Regions from separate parts of the Homo sapiens genome. Here all the other regions are linked to region 3. Evidence: promoter capture Hi-C in human tissues and cell types (Jung and others, 2019). All regions are on one chromosome and are shown on one strand. Each heading gives the region's core, a stretch centred on a gene start or on the middle of the fragment in contact. The rest is flanking DNA. Distances are from core to core; before and after follow the strand shown. Region 1 overlaps TRAPPC10 (trafficking protein particle complex subunit 10). Region 2 has its middle 25 kb from the start of TSPEAR. Region 3 holds the start of TRPM2 (transient receptor potential cation channel subfamily M member 2). Region 4 holds the start of KRTAP12-2 (keratin associated protein 12-2).

Region 1 (4,842 bases), core at 1,534-4,033, 330 kb after region 3:
TTATAATAAAATATGTGAAATGTTACAGTTCTTCCATTTCCCTTATCCTTCTCTTTTTCTTTTTTCCATAGCACTTGTCACCTAACATTATTTGTCTATTGTCTATCTCTTCTTGACAGAATGTAAACTCTCAAAGGGTTGGGATCTTTGCTCTCTGACATAACCCAAGCCCCTTCAGCAGTAACTGGCATGTAATAGGTCCTCCGTAAATGTTTGCTCACTGATGAAAACAGCCCAACTCCTCCATACTCCACACTAGACAACCCAGGATCCCCAAAGGACAGAACAGACTACAGGAGAAGCAAAGACAGTGCTGGGTATCAAGTTCTCAGAATAGGAATTTAATTTTGGAATAAGACTATACTAAAAATTTCTAGTGTATAGCTTACTTACTCAATTCTTAGAATGCTAAAGTGACATTTTTATTTAATTATATGGCAAAGGCTTTCTCAGAAGCATAATTTTAGGGACAAACTCCCTGCTTCCATGTGAACAGATGGTGTCTGCCTTCCCTAAGTACTTGGTAAAGCAGGAGTCATCAGACATGCTAATATTGGTCCGAGCTGTGCTACTAAACAGTTACACTGATCATGGCCAGTCACAGCAAAACCAGCCCTCAGCTCCTCAACTTCAAAATGACTTCTGACGGCCCTTCTCATTAACCTGGATGTTTAGAGCTTGCTGACTGGTCTAGGTGAACTGACAGTGCCCACAAATGGCAAGCTACAGATTGAGTTAAAGTTACTATCCAAACAGGTGGTTGTCAGTTCCAAGGCTCTGCTAAAAATTTCAACCCTGAAATTGTTTTTTTTTGTTTTTTGTTTTTTGAGACAGGGTCTCACTCTGTCGCCCAGACTGGAGTGAAGTGGCACAAACATGGCTCACCGCAGCCTCAAATTCCTGGGCTCAAGCGATCCTCTGGCCTGTCTCCCAAGTAGCTAGGACTAGAAGCACGCACCACCATGCCCAGCTAACTCTGAAATGTATACAATCGCTTCAAACTGCTAACAGATCTCAGTTAAAAATAAGAAAAATGGGCCAGGCGCGGTGGCTCATGCCTGTAATCCAGCACTTTGAGAGGCCGAGGCGGGCAGATCACAAGGTCAGGAGATCGAGACCATCCTGGCTAACACGGTGAACTCCATCCTTACTAAAAATACAAAAAAATTAGCCAGGTGTGGTGGTGGGCGCCTGTAGTCCCAGCTACTCGGGAGGCTGAGGCAGGAGAATAGCGTGAACCCAGGAGGCGGAGTCGGAGCTTGCAGTAAGCCGAGATCACGCCACTGCACTCCAGCCTGGGCAATAGAGCGAGACTCTGTCTCAAAAAAAAAAAAAGAAAAGAAAAGAAAAATGTCCAAACATACAATGGAATGGTCCCTGGTCACTGTTAAAAAAAAAAAATTGCAAACAGGGGCCTAAAATAATATTCAGAAATTAAACACCATGTAACAAATGTCCAAAAAGCCACATAAGGGAGAGAGCACAGAAGAGGCTGGACTTTTCCTAAGAAGGGATCACCCCACCTTGTAACCACATCTAGAACCCAGAAGCCCAAATGTCAAGATAACATTCCCTCGGTCAGGAGTACACGAAGGACAAACCTCCAAAGACAGACGCAGCTGTCTAAAACCAAAGACGCTTGATGAATGCCGGCCACTGCGCGCTTGGTAGCTAACACAGACAGTGGTGCGGCAGGTGGCATGGTGCCCCACAACATCCTAACCCTCAAAACCTGTGAATGTCACCTTATTTGGGAAAGGGGTCTTTGTAGACTTAATTAAGTTCAGGAGCTCAAGATGTGATTATCCCAGATTATCCAGGCAGGCCCTATATATAGCTGGATTCTAGATATATTTCAAAGATAATGTCAGTTGTGAGAGAAAAAAGAAGTCATAAATGACTCCAAGGTTATCAATTTTTAATTTAAAAACAAATATTCTCTAAGGCCAAAATACTGTGACTATATTTGACATTAAGAGCAGATAGAGGAAAGATTTGAGGAAGAAAGAAGGTGAGACACAGGACAGGAAGCCACAGGAAGCTCTGAGGCAACCCACCACAGAGGCAGGCACTGAGGTGGGAATGTTTTGACTGTTTAAGACCCTGCAGCTGTCTGGGCACAGTGGCTTATGCCTGTAATCCCAGCACTTTGGGAGGCCAAAGAGGGCGGATTGCTTGAATCCAGGAGTTCAAAACGTGCCTGGGCAACATGGCGAAACCCCATCTCTACTGAAAATACAAAAAATTAACTGGGCATGGTGGCACACAAGCAGCTACTCGGGAGATTGAGGTGGGAGAATCACCTGACCCCAGGAGGTCAAGGCTGCAGTGAGCCGAGATCATGCCACTGCACTCCAGTCTGGGCGACACAGTGAGACCATGTCTTAAAAAAAAAAGACCCTGTAATCTTCTGCCGTTGCTGGTCTCTAACTCCAGATCTAAAGCCACCAGGTCTAGAGTGGAGCACGGGGGTGGGAGGGTCAGTACTTGGAGATCAGTGTGCAATACCTTTGGAGACCACACACTTACACACTAAGGCATGCGACTCCAGGGAAGACACTCTGTCAACTGGCAACAAACTTTCCTACGACAAAAAAATCCTTAAGTCAGTTATTTGTATTTCCATTAAAAGATAACCAACTCAGCCAGAGTGAGCCACACAATCACACTGTCAGTTGGCAGGCCTCTGGTGGAAGCACACAGCAAAAACTCTCTAAGGAAAGACTGGTTCATGTGTTATGCCCGACATACTTTTTTTTTTTTTTTTTTGAGACGGAGTCTCACGCCAGGCTGGAGTGCAGTGGCATGATCTCGGCTCACTGCAACCTCCGCCTCCCAGATTCAAGCAATTCTCCTGCCTCAACCTCCCGAGTAGCTGGGACTACAGACGCGAGCCACCACGCCCAGCTAATTTTTGTATTTTTAGTAGAGACGGGGTTTCACCATGTTGGCCAGGGTGGTCTCAATCTCTTGACCTCATGATCCACCCACCTTGGCCTCCCAAAGTGCTGGGATTATGGCCATGAGTCACTGCGCCCAGCCTTTATTTTTTTTTCTGAGACCAGGTCTTGCTCTGTCACCCAGGTTGCAGTGTGAGGTACAATCACAGATCACTGCAGCCTTGACGTCCCAGGTCCAAGTGATCCTCCCGCCTCGGCCTCCCAAGTAGCTGGGAGTACAAGCGCACACCACCACACCTGGCTAACTTTTTTATTTTCATTTTTGTAGAGATAGGAATTCCCTATGTTGCCCAAGCTGTATCATACTTGATTATTTCAGAGATTCATCAGCACTTAAGAAAAAAAGAAAAAAAAAAAGAAAATCAGACCTTTCCATTTCATTTGCATAAAGAACTTACTAGAAACTCTTCAGAAACACATCTTGTAGTAAAGTAGGTGTGTGAGCTGAAAAGAAAGGAAGCTTTTCAATTCTAAAGTATCAGTTCAAATCCACCCTGGAGTTGGGCTAATAACACTAACAGCACGGGTTCCCAAACTGTGTACCTAGGCTTCCCACACACTACGCAGAGAGGCACCAAGAGATATTTTAAATTTATGAGGGAAACAGCAATGCTTGTGGTGTAGGAACCCCACACAAGGTATTCACAGTGTCAACATCAGATCAGGGCTCCACTTCTTTCGATGACATCATTATCGTCGCAAAACAGGGTGGCTGCTCTGATAAAAAGCAAGTACCACCAAAAAGAAGAAGAAAAAAAAAAAACCAAAGGGAGAAGCAGCGTCCAATCCGACCTTCAGGTGAGAGGTGCCACAGAGCTCCCGCAGGGCCTGCCCCCCACGTAGCACACTGCTGCAATTAGGAAGAATGATGAAAATATTTTTTTCTTCCAACTTATATATATTTTTTTTCAAACAGCTCTTGTTAGGACATAATATTTAATAAATTACTGGAATCTAACTACTTAATAAATGGAATTTTTAAGTATTCCTTTTAGCCTAGAGATGCCATGAAAAAAATTACCGAGACACTAAAAGCATTGTGAACAGAGAAAATTGAGGAACCTCTCCTTAGTAACTTTTTTTGCACACTGACTATAATCCTGACACTCTCCTGAGTGCTTTACACACCCTTCTCAACCCGATGGGGTTGGTACTGTACCCGTTTCACAGCTAAGGGTCTGTGAAATTATGTAAGAACCGAGGTCATGCGTACAAGATGGAATGGTTTGTAACCATGCTCGGGTAGAAATGACATAGTAAGTTAAGCACATTTGTTGGTGCCTTTAGTCCCCGCCTCCAAATACATACTCTCTGCAACAACTGCGATTTCCTAAGAAGAATGTTTCTCCTACTTTTCAATCTTTGGTTCAACATTGCCTTGAGAATTCAATATGAAACAAAATCTGCATTTATAACATATTCACCCATTTAAACAGACATTTCAAGTGACTTTTCTGGTAGTAAAACTAGTGATGGTTAAATCGCAAGCACCACATTTTCAGGTTTAGTAGAAAATTTCAATGTGCAAATTTAAAAACTTTAACCTGGCTGGGCGCGGTGGCTCATGCCTATAATCCCAGCACTTTGGGAGGCTGAGGCGGGCAGATCACAAGGTCAGATCAAGACCATCCTGGCTGACACGGTGAAACCCCGTCTCTACTAAAAATACAAAAAATTAGCCAGGCGTGGTGGCGGGCGCCTGTAGTCCCAGCTACTCGGAAGGCTGAGGCAGGAGAATGGCGTGAACCCGGGAGGCGGAGCTTGCAGTTAGCCAAGATCACACCACTGCACTCCAGCCTGGGCAACAAAGCAAGACTCCGTCTCAAAAAATAAAAATTAAAATTAAAAAAATTTTAACCTACAGGGGAAAATCCCAAAGTCC
Region 2 (4,708 bases), core at 2,141-4,640, 380 kb before region 3:
TTCTTCCTACATTGTCATTGCTTGAACAGGACTGCCCCAGGAGAAATGTGTTTTTTGGCAAGTGCAGGGGCTAGAAAAGGAGCAGTTAAGGATAACAGCCACTGTACCCACTCTACCTTCAGAGCACCCTATTGCGGCCTCAACATCCCTTTTTTAATGCCAACTTTTCACTTTACATTTCAAGAAAATAATATGTCTCTTAAAGCTCTTGGGCCTGGATCCTCTGAGGACTGCATGCCCTTGAGAGAGTGGGGCTAGCCCCTGGTTGAAGACCTTTTTTCTAAGGTTGCTATCGATTCACTCCCCTTGCATCTCTTAAGTCTGGTATAGTTGTCCCTCCTTTCTTGCTCCTCTCTCACTGGGATTATTGCCACTGCCTCTGTGGGGATGTATATGGTTTTGGCCTGTCCAGCACCCACTCATCTTTCCCCTGCTAACAGCTGCCTGGCTGGCCTTGGGGCCTATGCCATTCAGGGGACTTGGGGCTCCTGGCTCCAGGACAGGAGAAAGCTTGGAAACATGGTGTATTCCTCTTGATTTCATGTGTGCTGAGTGGAAAGGTAAGGCTCGTCAGGGTTTCCCAGGTCAGAGGCTGACCCCTGTGGAGGACACCAGGCAGCTGCTGCTCAGAGGTCTCTGCAGGAAGGACAGAGAGCCCAATTAGCTGGTGCTTGCCAGACCAAGGCCTTGACTCAGATTGAGTATTTTGAGTAGCGATGCGGGAACATGATTTAGAGTTGCATAGAGTGATGATGACTTCCTCCAATCCATTTCTGCCAGCTGCTGGATTCATACATCCTTCGAAAGATGGTTGTTTGCCATCTTTGCTTCTCTTAATGATCTATCTGGGATCTTGTGTCATGGAAAATGTCCAGATGTATCGTCTTCATTTGAGTGGCTGCATAGTGTCCCTTGAATTGGCATCCCAACCTTTACTCAGTCCCCTCTGTATTGACAGCCAATTTGTTTCCATCTTCTGTTCTTAAACAGCACTGCCATAATATTTTGGTTCTCATGTTGTTATATGTATGTGGAGGTAAATCTGTATATATAAAAAAAAAGTCCCAAACAGGAATCACTGGGTCAGAGGTATTGCCATTTTAAATACTGAGAGATTGCCCCCAAATAAACATGACTTGTACATTCCACCAGGTGCATAAGAGCCATGTTGCCTTTCATAAACAAAGAAAACATTTGGTTCTGGTTCTGCCTTCATGACAGTTTGTGGTGAGCTCTTAAGGCCTCTAATGAGCTTTCTGGTGAATGTCGGCTCCTTTGCGAGCATATCTTGATTGAGAATCTCCTGCACTCTCCTTTTTGGATGCTCTGGCATCCACCAGCATGTTCTCTGCCTGAAACTCCTGTCCCCCTTGTTTTTCCACCCCAAAACCCCTTCTTCAAAACCTGTCTTATGCACCCTGTCTTTCAGGAAGCCCTCCCTGCCACGCCCAGGCTGAGTCTCTTGTCTTCCATGCTCTGAGGTTCTTCCTCCATCTTTGGATTCAAACTCCACTGTTCAAGTGGGCTGTTAGAAGAAGCAGGCTGCCTGTTTAATGGATGAGGGCTGGGCTGAGAGGGGAGACAATTTGGGGGAAATCATTTATTTCCCTCATCCATTTGGAAGAAACTTCCTCTATTACTCAAAATGCTTTGGAATATGACACCTTTTAAATTCATTTTCCCCCAAATCACTCTTCACGCTGCATTTTTGACCAGTGGGAGAAAAACCAGAGTCCACGCAGTGGCAGGCTATCCCTATCCTTTGTTCTGCCTGCTGTTTGGCCAAGCAGTGGTGTGTAAGGGAAGAGGGCTCCCCATGCCTGCTCTCCTCCCTCACATCCACATCTCATCCTCCTTCAGCTCTGTCTGTCCAGCCTTTAAAATGTGTTATTTTTATCCAAGCATCATTTCTCCAGGATATCCTAGATCCTCCCAACAGTCTCTTGCTCCCACCTTTGCCCCCAAGTCTCCTCTCCCTGGTGCTCAGATCATGCACCCCACCCTGTTCAAACCCTCCCTGGCTCCTTGTTACACCAGAGTAAGACACAGACACCCTTCCCTGCCCACAAAACACATGAAGCCTGCCCCCACTCGCCTGTCCCTCCCCTGCTCACCTGCCCAGCCCCCACCTGTCCTTCCCCCTCCCCCTGCCCTCCACCCCACCCCTCCCCTGGCTGTTCTCTGGAAACTTCAACTTTGTCCCCTGCAGAGGGCCTCTGCATCAAGTCCCTTCTCAGAGAGGCTTGGCCTGTTGCTTGCTGCATCCCAGCTGCCCCATCTCTCTCTGCTTTCCCCTCTGTGGGACGTTTGTTTCCATGATCCACCATGACATGGCCTCTGTGGCCCCACAGCAGATGGGGGACACCCAGAAGGGCTCTCAGGAGGGAGCTGTGATTTATCTCAGGGTACAGGGCCCTGCAGGTCCTTGCTAAGCACCAGTGTCTGCCCCTCCCATGGATGCCCAGCCCAGTCAGGGCAGCTGCGTCACTCACTATGTTGGCCTGGTGCCCGTGCTCTGTGAGTTCAGCTGGACTGTGGTGTCCTCACCGTGTTTGCTAACTTGTTCCCACCAGGCTATTTCCTTGGCCTCTGGACATGCAGCCTACTGTAAATGATCATCTCAGTGAACCTTGTGCAGCTTTGCCAGAGGGACCCTAAAAAAGATGCCCACTCCTCCTGTGTACTCTTGTGTGGGTGAACTGGCAGATGATGAGAAGGGGGTGTCACTCGGGGAGGGCTGGTGCCCTGGAAGCATGTGGAGCCTGCAACGGCCCTGCTGCTGCTGGCTAGGACAGAGTGGGAAGTCAGGTGGGCCTGGGGTACCCAGGGATGTGGCAACAGGACAGGGATTTTGTGACGGCCTCAAGGCGAGGCTTCTGGAGAGCCCCAGAGGATCCGGCCAGGAGCAGGCCCAGCTCCTCTCCAGCTTGCTGTGCCTCAAAGAATCCTCTGGATCTCTCTGCCTCAGTTTCCCTAGCTCACCACTGACAGGCTGGACTTCAGGCCCTCTGCAGTGGCCCACAGAAACACCCATGATTCTGCATGGCCACCCCAAAAAAGATGCTGAAGTCTTTTTCCTGTGAATATGCCCTTATTTGGAAAAAGGGTCTTTGCAGGTATAATCAAGTGCAGGTGAGGTCATTGGGGTGGCCCTAACCCAAGAGGCATATGTCCTTATGTGAAGGTCGTGTGGAGACAGAGACTCAGCAGGTGGCCGCATGACAAGGGAGACAGAGGTTGCAGTGATGCGGCCACAGGCCGGGAAACACCACAGCTGCCAGGAGCTGGAGGAGGCAGGAAGGATCCTCCCCTGGAGCCTCCAGAGACAGTGCGGCCCAGTGACACTTTGATCTGAGACCTCTGGCTCCAGGCCTGAGACAAGACTTTTCTGTTGCTTTAAGCTGCCTGGTTTGTGGCTGTTGTCACAGCAGCCCCAGGACACTGGCACTCCTGACATCTCAGCTGGCCGCCACCTTGAGAGGAACCAGCTCTTCTCCCCTGAAGTCTACCTTTCTCCAGCCTAGACCACAAGGAAGGACACTGTCTTGCACCCTGCAGGGAGCACCCGTGACCCCGTTGGGGGATGGAGACCCTGTGTATTGTGGGAGGACGTGACACATCCCTGCAAGGAGGACCATCTGCTTCCTCTCTCCTCGTGGTGCGTGGGCCTGACCTGGAATTCAGAGCTTTGGATTACCTCGCTGCCTGTGTGGAGGCTCCTCAAGTGGGACACCCTCTGTGTGTTCTGCTGTGTCGTCTATCTTAGGTCAGAGCCAAAGCACACGGCACACTTTTTAAGCCTTTCAGAGTTAATTTGTCAGAAGGCAGGGCCTGCTGGGTAAACACTGGGAGCTGGGGACCCCAGCCTGGCTGCCAGGGCTGGAGAGGGCGCTGCCTGGAGCCTCACAGAGCCTGGGAGCTCCACGCCAGTGCCGCTCTTCCGCCTGCCGTGATTGTCCCCGGGTAGCCGCTGAGCCCGCCCGTTGTCACCAGTTTTTCAGGTGACCTCAGTGGCCTGCCAGTCGGGCCTCAGGGCTCATGCAGCCCATGAAGAATTTCTGGGTCCTCGTTTTCCTGAACATTTATCTTCCATCCTGGAACATTTGCGCGTCCTCACTGAGAAGACAGAGAATGCACCCCAACCCTGGCCCCTGCAGGAGGCTGGGAAGCCGCGCTGGGACAGTGACGCCCTGCTCGTGACTTGCCGCCGGGCAGCCCTGGCCATTCCCAGAGCGGCTCTGGTCTCATTTCCGGGGATGGGGCCTCTCCTGTCCTGCCCCCTCCTGTTGGCACCCTCCCTGCAGCCGGGGCCTGGGGTTGGGAGAGGGAGGCTCTGACAGTAGGGAATGACCTGGCATGGGCCACAGCGAGGAGGCCAGAGGTGCCTGGGACAGGCACGGAGGGCAGGGCTGTAAACGGGAATTGGAAGAGGACGGGGCCGGGGCAGGCGGGATGGCAGCAAGAGCTGGCCAGAGTCCACAGGGCACATGGCTATTGCTCTAGCTCCAGCCCCATTTCTCCCAAACCTCCGAGTTTTGGGAAGCTCAGGAATTAAACAGTTATGTCCTAAAGACCCGTATCATGCCTTGAATCCCATGTGTGGGTGAAAAGTCATCGAGGCAGACGACAGATCCATATGGAGTGTGCCCTGAGCACGTGTATCCCCGGCACGGGGGGGTGGGTGGGGCCTGCTGTGTGGAATGACTGA
Region 3 (4,533 bases), core at 1,157-3,656:
TTTATAACATCTACATTGTATCAGGTATTATAAGTAATCTAGAGATGATTTAAAGTATGCTGAAGGATGTACATAGTTTATATGCAAATACCACACCATCTCATATCAGTGACTTGATATGAGATTTTGGGACTGATACGAGATATGGGATTTTGGTGTCCGTGGGTGTCCGGGAACAATTCCCCAGGGATGCGGAGGGACAGCTGTTGTATTGGTGACCGTGAAACTCTGATGATGTACCGAGTACACTAGAGGTACCCTGGGGCAACACAGTCTTCTTCTATTTCCCAAGCACAGGATGCTTCTCCCTCCCCATATTCAGTAAATATGAGCTGAAGGCCACTCTCTGGGAATTAACACAACACTCTGCTTTCGTCCCAGCCCCCCAGAAGCTCAGCAGCTAGCAAGAAAGATGAACACAAAGCCACACAGTTACAGCACGACAGCTGGGATCAAAGAGAAACACACGGTGCGGTAGGAGGGAAGCTCACTTCCTGGTAGAGGTTGTATAGTCACGGAAGGCTGCACGGCAGAGGCAGCATCTGCAATAGGCCTTGAGGGATAAGTAGGAGCTCACCAGGCAATGGAGTAAAAGGAGGAAGCGTGTGGCCCATTTGTGGAAGAGCATGAAATGGGTGTTGCTCGGGGAGGGCACACAAACATGAATCAACACTCTGTCCGTGCCTAAAGGGGCGCCAACTGCGGGGAGCACCATCGGCTCCGGAGGGCCATATCCAGCCACTCAGAGACAGTGGCCATGTTGCCTGGGCGGGGGTCTTGGCCACACCTGAGTCGTGGGCTCTGTGGGGAGGAGGGGCAAAGGGGGCTCTGTGGGGCCTGGGGGCAAGTCGGGCCTCTGGCTTTGGCAAGCTGTGCAGGGGGGCAGTCTTCTGGCCATGGACTCTCCCTAAGGCCCTTCCAGTTCCTGGACCCTGGGACTCTCTCTCTTGGGGTGGGGGCAGGTGTGGAAATGAGAGGATTAGAGGATGCATCTGTGTTCACACCACTGGGCCTCGCCGCGCGACAGTGCCCTTATGACCCTGAACAAGTCACCTAAACTCTGCACTTTGGTCCCTGCACCTGCGAGGCAGGATGAGGGTCAACTGTCCCCGACAGGAGGCTTGCAAGGGTTAGGTGGAAATGCTCTGTGGACTCTAAGCCTCGTATGGAGACAGAGGTATCTCCAGTGACCCTTCACTGAGGCCCTGAGGGGTCTTGGCCTGATCAGCTACTCCATGTGGGATCGGAAGGAAGAAGTCAGAGGTCTTACACACAAATCACGTCACTTACCCAGCATCAGACAGTTTGGAACTTTCCACAAAATACACGCATTCTTTCTTCTTGATGTTTTCAGGAATCCACGAACTGAGGCTTTCTTGCTGAAGGTAAAGACAGCACACTGAGATCTTCCAACATTCGAAAGAGCACACCCAGCCCCCTGGAGACACATCTGAGCTCCTTGAGGAGCTTTCACACTATTTGCTTGAAGGAAGGAAGCCTGCGCGACCCTGAGCCAAAGATTAGAAGCACCTTGCCAAGACTCTCCGGTGGGGATTCAGGAGGGAGGAATGAATCTAAGAAATCATTTCCTCTTGGGACCATTTTGAATGTGCGCGCACTTTACAGTTTCTACAGCACCACCACCTTCCTTGGGAACAACATGGTGTGGTGGAAAACGTGGAGGCTGGGGATCTGGGGACCTGGATCTTGCACCATCGGAAAAAGGGCAGCCACCCTCCTGCCTGCCTGGCAAGGGGACTGCAAGATGCCATGTGCTTTCAACATACTTGTGTCTTTGTATCCAGGGCTTTGGGGAAAGCTAGCCCAGGCCCAGGCCCTCCCAATCGGATAAAGGATGTGAAATCATTATGCAACAAGGTAAGCACGGGTAACAGATTTCCAGGACTCTAGCGCAACATTTTTGAGTTAACCCGGTGATTTCCCAATCAGACCAACCATGGGAAATGGTCATGCAACCCACAGAAGACGAGACACGCATCACCCTCCCCAGTTCTGTTCTCCCAAAGGTATGGTTGGGCAGGAGCCCCCAAGGTCAGCAGACCCTTTCCCACCCCCGTCGTCACAGCCTCAAGCTATGACCTGCCCAACGGTGACCTCCGTGGCCACGTGCCAACTGCAGGCTGACCAGCAGAAAGCCTACCTTGTCATTGTTGCCGAAGGGGCACTGTAGCCTCCAGCTCTTGAAGAGGCTGCTGTTGCTGCGCCGGAGATTGGAGACCATCCCCAGGTCAGTGACCCTTCTGGGCAGCCCCTCAAAGCCCTCCTCCTGCTCCGAGCCAGCTTTCCTCAGGGCTGAGGGCTCCATTCTGAGACCCCCACGCCAGCTGCAACCAGGCCTGCTGCCCTCAGGACAGTCCTCTCTCCAGCTCGCTACACTGGGGTTCTAGAGACACATGGGGTGGTTGCTGAAATAGATCAGAGACAGGAAGATGAGGCTGATGTTCTGAGAGGACCTGGCCACATGCTTCCTCATGTGAAGCCCTCATCCGGTTCTCTTCATCAGCCTGCACATGTTCCCAGCTGCCTGAGCTGTGTCCCTTGGCTGGGGCCCCCGGACACTCTGGGGGAGTACATGCACATGCGGGGGTCCCAGCGGCCGTTCATAATGGTAACAACCTCAGGTGACTGCAGGGCCAGAGAAAGAGCTCCCTCCCCCACGGGTGCAGCTGCACTGAGCACCGCACAGGGAAGTCTCCACCGCCAGCACCAGCTGCCAGCGACATGGTTTCGCAACTGTACAATTCTGCACAGCTCCTGCTTCCAGACACCAGTGACTACTTTCATATTCCAAAATTTTTTTAAATAGCCCTCACTGTCCACAAAGGAAGTTTCTTTTTCTTCTTGTTTTTTGAGACGGAGTCCCACTTTGTCGCTCAGGCTGGAGTTCAGTGACGCAGTCTCGGCTCACTGCAACCTCGGTCTCCCTGGTTCAAGTGATTCTCCTGCCTTAGCCTCCCCAGTAGCTGGGATTATGGGCGCCAATCACCACACCCTGCTAATTTTTTTTGTATGTAGTAGCAACAGGGTTTCACCATGTTGGTCAGGTTGGTCTCAAACTCCTGACCTCAGGCGATCCACCAGCCTCCGCTTCCCAAAGTGCTGGTTTTACAGGCGTGAGCCACTGTGCCCAGCCTAGAAAGGAAGTTTTGGGGAGTACCACATCTCTCCACTCCAGGAAAAAGACAATAATTCAAATGAATCTTTTTCTCTCATATCCTTTCCCCCTGGCTCTGATGTGGCCTTCATCACCGAGGCCACAAGAAGCCACCGGATGACTGCCCTCCCTTTACAAATGAGAAACATAAGCATGTTCAAGCCCTGCGGGGCCTCCCTGAGTCCCTGACACCCACAGTGTTCTCATGAGGTCATCCATGGTCATCCCCTGCCACTGCCCCAAAGGTGTCAAGGGGAGGGTTGCTGGGATGCAAAAGATCTGACTGGAATCCCCCCTCATCCCTGCCCTGAAACCAGATCTCTGGCCACGTCCTCTCCACTACACACGACGGTCACTGTCAGACAAGCCTTTGCTCTGCCGTCCCCTCATCACATTAGGTGACTGAGCCCCTCTTCGGGGCCACGCAGCTCGAAGCTCGGTGCCGGGCTCTTGGGGCTGAGCTACGGGCTGCTGTCCTGGGGCGGGCACTCTCAGGCAACCCCACCTCCCCCTCTCCCTCCTCCCCTTTGCCCCTTGGCCACACTCATTCCGAGACCCGTAAACTTCACTGGCAGGATGGCAGGGGTGCCCTGCCCGGCCTTTTCCTGCAGTTCTCAGAGCAGATGTTGTGCCGCATGCCAGTGGGGTCTTTCCAGGGCCATGAGCTGTCCCCGCAGCCACTGGCCCGGCTTCACAACCAGCTTCCGAGGGAAGCAGAGGGGCAGAGATGTCCCCAGTGGCAGGAGGAAGAGGAGGCTCTAGAGAGATCGCAGTGGCACCGCAAGGGGACCCAGACTGCAGGTGGCTCCCCAGGCAGGCGGTCCACCCTGCACGGGATGAGGATGGCTCCACGCTGGAAACGAAGACCCCAGCATCAGACGGGAGGGTCCACGGTGTGGGACTCTCTGCCTTAAGACCAGCATGTTCTGTTCACACGCTCATCTTTCAGGCAGCTGTCCACCTCAGCACAGCCCCTGGGGTCTTGTGCAGGTTCCTCTAATCCCAGAGGCAAGCAGGCCCTGGGAAGCAGGTCAGACCTGCTCCAGCACCACCCGACTTTGCAGGAGGCAGCCAGGAGCCCCTGTGAGCATCTGATGCCCGCTGTGGGGGGGCCAATGGCTCGACCCAGTGCCCAACAGGACGGGTGCCTCAGCCTCAGCCCAGGGGTGCAGAACCCTGAAAACCCAGGCCTGGCAACGACCTTCCAAGGGCCCATCCAGCCCTTTCTGGGGTTCTTCTACCCAAAATTACAGGCTCAATCCCTTTCTCACAAGTCACCTGAGAACAGCTTGGGCCACCCTGGTTCACAGCTAAAATTCTCCACAAGCAACTGGCACAGGTGTGAGTGTTGAGAGCAC
Region 4 (4,840 bases), core at 1,884-4,383, 310 kb before region 3:
AAAGGGAATTATTCTGAGTAATCTTCTGAGACTTATGTCTCCCACTCTGTACAGAGTTGCTAAGGGTCCTCTGCATTTCTTGTGGGTGTATTCTGTATTCAGCGTGCCTCCTTCCTGGGGTTCTGCTGTTTCTACTTCAGGTTAAATGCCCCCCAGTAGATGGGCAGGCCTGTTGTTCCCAAGAGTCTGCTATTACAGATGGTGCTGATATAAACATTTGCAAACCTATTCCACAATTTGTTTGTTAGTGTTCTGGGGGTAGGACCTCTGGGGGTGGGACTGCTGGGGCAAAGGGCATCCGGATGTTCATCCCAACAAGGCACGCCACCTCCTGCGGGTGATCCGTAAGCCGAGGAGGAGAATGGTGGGAATACTGGGATGGCTGTTGCCAGTAGCAATGGAGTGTGCTGGAACCTGATGTCATGGTCTCGGTTTTCAGCCTGGCAGCCTCAGTCCAGGCTCCAGGCTCCTTAGTCCATACTGCAGGCACACAGCTAGCCTCTCTTTAACTGAAAGTACAGCCCTCCAACCCCTCACCCTTGCCCCCTTGATGCTGAGGGGTGGAGGAGGCTCTGTGTTTGTAGCTTTGTGTTTTAGGGGAGAATGCCCAGTGCTTTATTTTTTTATTTAATTTTTTTTGAGATGGAGTCCTGCTCTGTCACAGGCTGGAGTGCAGTGGTGCAATCTCACCTCACTGCAAACTCCACCTCCCGGGTTCAAGTGATTCTCCTGCCTCAGCCTCCCAAGTAGCTGGGACTACAGGCACGTGCCACCACACCCAGCTAATTTTTGTATTTTTAGTAGAGGCGGGGTTGCACCATGTTAGCCAGGATGGTCTCGATCTCTTGACCTCATGATCCAGCCGCCTTGCCCTCCCAAAGTGCTGGGATTACAGGCGTGAGCCACCTGAGTTTGATATTACATATATGTGATGCTGTTTAATGATGTCTCACAGGCTCTTTTCATTTTTCTTAATTCTTTTTCTTCCTCTCCTTCATTTTGGATAATTTCTATTGATGTGCTTCAAGTTCATGAACTCTTCTTCAATCTCATTCTATATTTACGTCTATCATGTGGATTTTAAAATATCAGCTATTGTACATTTTAGTTCTAGCATTCCCATTTAAAAAATAGTTTCAATTTCCCTACTGAGATTCTCTATCTTTGATCTTGAGTTAATTTTGTATATGGTGTGAGGTAAGGGTTAAAAATAATCTTTTGTGTGTGGATATCCTGTTTTCCCACTGCCATTTGTTAAAAAGTCTGTTCTTCCCTCACTGAAAGGTCTTGACAGCCTTGCCGAAAATTATTTGACTGTAGTTGTGAGAGTTTATTTCTGGGCTCTCTATGCTATTCCATTAGTCTATATATTGGTCTTTATGCCAGTACCACAGTTTTGATTAGTGTAGCTTTGTAGTAAGTTTTGAAATCAGAAAGTGTGACTCCTCCAGCTCTATTCTTTTCTTAAGATTGATTTGGCTATTTAGGGTCCCTTGAGACTCCACATAAACTTTAGGATGGGTTTTTCTATTTCTGCAAGAAATGTCCTTGGGATTTTGACAGGGATTGCATTGAATCTGTAGATTGCTTTGGTTAGTATGGACATATTAACAATATTAATTTCCAATTCATGAACATGGGATGTGTTTCCATTTATTTCTGTTGCCTTTAATTTCTTTCAACGTTTTGTAGTTTTTGTTACACAATTATTTTAATTCTTTGGTTAACTCCTGAGTATTTTGTTCTTTTTAATGTATTGTAAATGGAATTGTTATTGTACTTTCCTTTTGAGATTATGCTTGTTAGTTTATGGAAATAGAACTGATTTTTGTGTTTTGCTTTTGTATCCTGCTACTTTGCTGAATTCATTTATTCTAAAATTTTTGTGTGTGGAATATTTAGAGTTTTCTACATATAAAAATCATGTCATCTGTGAACACAGCTAACTTTACTTCTTGCTTTTCAATTTGGATGCTTTTTGTTTCTTTCTTTCTTCCTTTTAAAAACAATTGCCTAGTTGCTCTTAGTAAAACTTCTAGTACTATGCTGGCTTTGTTCCCAATATTAGAGAAAAAGCCTTCAGTTTTTCACCAGTGGGTATGAGGCTTGCTGTGGGTCTTTCATGTATGGCTTGTATTGTGTTGAGGTAGTTTTCTTCTATTCTTAGTTTGTTGATTGTTGTCATCATGAAAGAATCTTGAATTTTGTGAAATGCCTTTTCTATATCAATTGAGATGATCACGTGGTTTTTTCCTTCATTCTGTTATCATGATGCCAAGTTCCAAGTGATCTGGTGTTGACATCTGTAGGCTCAGAGATTCTACTGTCCCTGCAGTACAGGGTGCACATGGCTTTCTGCTGAACATACCCAGAAGTCATTCTGGCCCTTGGAACCTTCTATATTCAGCTCACACATATCCTGCTGTGGCTGTCCATGGGACCCTTCACTGGCCTCACATGCTTCCCTGGGAACATGCTTGGACCAGCTTGATTTCCTTAGAGCTGTGTCTCCATGCATGAGGGCCAGTGGTGTTGTCTCATCTTGGTTCTTAACTAGGAGGATTTCTCAAGACAAAGATCCATGGTCACCACTCACAAGAAGTTCTCTGTGACCCACACCCTTTGTCCCCACTCATCCTATGGACAAGTGATTTCCATGTTCTTCCTCCATCTGCTAGCTCTCATCCAGCTCTAAGCTCTCAGGACACCCACAGATCAGCTAGACACGTCCTGTTCTACCTCACATTGACTGTGGAGCCTTCCTGAGCCATGAGAGGAGTGTAAACTTCTGTGGTTTAAGGACCATCATCACACAGAGAGGAAAAAAATCTGGAGATCTGAGTTTTTGGAATCTCACAAAAGTAACTCAGGTAAAATTTTAAAGAACAAGGAAGAATCTTGATGAAGCCAGTAAAACACTCTGGCAGGTTTCCAAGCATACCAAGAGTTCGAAGAAGGTGCAATTAGTCATGAAGCTAAGGGCCAAACAAAACCCAGAGACACCTACAACAGAAAATTAAGCTCCAGGAGACAGCACTGAGGAAGAAAAACAAGGAAGACAGGTGTGCTTCTGTGCTGTGGGGATGCCTGGGCCCAGGTATAAAGGCTGCCCAGGGAGGCCGTCCCCAGACATCACTGCCCTCTGCCTCGACCTTATCCAGCCACACGCCACCATGTGTCATACCAGCTGCTCCTCGGGCTGCCAGCCAGCCTGCTGCGCGCCCAGCCCCTGCCAGCCAGCCTGTTGTGTGCCCAGCTCCTGCCAGGCATCCTGCTGTGTGCCTGTGGGCTGCCAGTCCTCCGTGTGTGTGCCCGTGAGCTTCAAGCCAGCCGTGTGCCTGCCCGTGAGCTGCCAGTCTTCTGTGTGTGTGCCCATGAGCTTCAAGTCAGCTGTGTGCGTGCCCGTGAGCTGCCAGTCTTCTGTGTGTGTGCCTGTGAGCTGCAGGCCCATTGTGTGTGCAGCCCCCTCCTGCCAGTCCTCCCTGTGCGTGCCTGTGAGCTGCAGGCCTGTCGTGTATGCGGCTCCGTCCTGCCAGTCCTCTGGGTGCTGCCAGCCCTCCTGCACCAGCGTCCTCTGCAGACCCATCTCCTACAGTATCTCTTCCTGCTGCTGAGCATGAATCTCCAGACCCGCTGCTCCCAGTGCAGATGAGGCCACACCTGTACACTCCCTGGATGAGTCCTCAGTTGGTCTTCTGCACATGGTGCAGGTGAAAAGCATGCTCAGTTGAACCCTCTGAATTCTGGATTGAGAATGTGACAGAATGATCTGGAGCCCTTGCTGACCTTGCCCATCCCCCCAGGGAAGTCTGGGGTCCCAGAGTCATTCTCTGACCCCATGAGAGCCAAATAAACCAGCTTTCCCCATGCAGCTCTGCATTTCTGGTCTTTCTTTTTTATTTCCATACTCCCTGCTATCTATTCTGCTGATTACATAGAATTTGCTGCTAAACCCTCTTCAGTGATCCCTTCACCCAGTGCTCATCAGAAGGTGGTGTCCCGGGTGGAGGGCGCAGCTGCAGATGCCCATGTGGTCTCTCCCAGGGCTCCTGGGGCCCAGGTGCAGTGGCCACAGAAGTGACTTACCCGCCTGTGGTAGAGTGGTCTCGCTTCCCCACTGGCTGTCCACTCCTGCTCCAGGCCAACAAGCCCTGCACTGATGGCCAAAGCCTCAGAGCATTGACAATTGGGTTTTCTGATGTGGTTGGTGGACGTCCTGTTTCCCAGGTCGCGGAGGATCTCAAGTTTACAGAACTGGATTAGTTCTGCGGCACACACTCCCATCACTGGTCCACAAAGGCTTGGTTTTTATTGATTGACTGATGATCAATTACTGAGGATCCTAATATAATAAACCCGCATGAACCCACTGCCTGACATAGAAATGAGAACATCATCAATAATTTACCAAGAACTTCTTGGGGCAGCCACTGTTGGGATTGTGTGCTCCTTATTCTGTTACTTTCTAGAAAAAATAGAGTTGAGTCATATCTCTATGTATTCCTGAAATGGGTGTTTTCTAATTTAGTAATTTCTGGTGATATGAAAAGGAAATTATTCAGAATGTAATCTGGAACTTGCTTTTCCCAGTCTGCGTTGTGCTGGTAGCATTCTTCTGCATTTCCCCTGTCTGGGCTGTATTCCCCTCCTGGGGGGCTCTGCTGTGACTGTCTCAGGTTAAACGTTCCCCAGTAGATGGGCCAGCCCTCTTGCCCCAGGAGTCTGCTATTCCAGATAGCATAGCCCAGAACTGTCCCCTGAAGAACGTTCTCACTACTGGCTGCCTTCGATTCCAAGATTTTTATTTGCCTTGGAGGCAAGTGTTGAGTTTAGGGTTAAA

The links. Contacts are between HindIII fragments. The study calls those that stand out against the background at their distance.
Region 1: a contact is called between a fragment that was not itself captured here and the fragment with the promoter of TRPM2 in region 3, in 1 of the 25 tissues and cell types used here (lymphoblastoid cells).
Region 2: a contact is called between a fragment that was not itself captured here and the fragment with the promoter of TRPM2 in region 3, in 1 of the 25 tissues and cell types used here (lymphoblastoid cells).
Region 4: a contact is called between the fragment with the promoter of KRTAP12-2 here and the fragment with the promoter of TRPM2 in region 3, in 2 of the 25 tissues and cell types used here (heart right ventricle and mesenchymal stem cells).

The regions. Positions count from the first base shown.
Region 1 is chr21:44,016,619-44,021,460 of GRCh38, reverse strand. The region is part of intron 1 of TRAPPC10 (trafficking protein particle complex subunit 10); the gene reads right to left. Among named protein-coding and RNA genes, the nearest start is that of TRAPPC10, 6.7 kb to the right of the region's middle. The HindIII fragment of the contact is 4,381 bases long and covers 593-4,842 here.
Region 2 is chr21:44,734,636-44,739,343 of GRCh38, reverse strand. No RefSeq gene overlaps it. Among named protein-coding and RNA genes, the nearest start is that of TSPEAR, 25 kb to the right of the region's middle. RefSeq lists enhancers at 2,625-3,300, 3,301-3,974. The HindIII fragment of the contact is 6,322 bases long and covers 230-4,708 here.
Region 3 is chr21:44,351,494-44,356,026 of GRCh38, reverse strand. TRPM2 (transient receptor potential cation channel subfamily M member 2) reads right to left here and starts at 2,406. Exons shown (of 32, transcript NM_003307.4): 1 at 2,162-2,406; 2 at 1,291-1,379. The coding sequence starts at 2,326. RefSeq lists enhancers at 1,931-1,980, 2,141-2,190. The HindIII fragment of the contact is 21,861 bases long and covers 1-4,533 here.
Region 4 is chr21:44,665,220-44,670,059 of GRCh38, reverse strand. KRTAP12-2 (keratin associated protein 12-2) reads left to right here and starts at 3,133. Exons shown (of 1, transcript NM_181684.3): 1 at 3,133-3,871. The coding sequence starts at 3,174. The coding sequence ends at 3,614. The region is part of intron 1 of TSPEAR (thrombospondin type laminin G domain and EAR repeats); the gene reads left to right. The HindIII fragment of the contact is 12,719 bases long and covers 1-4,840 here.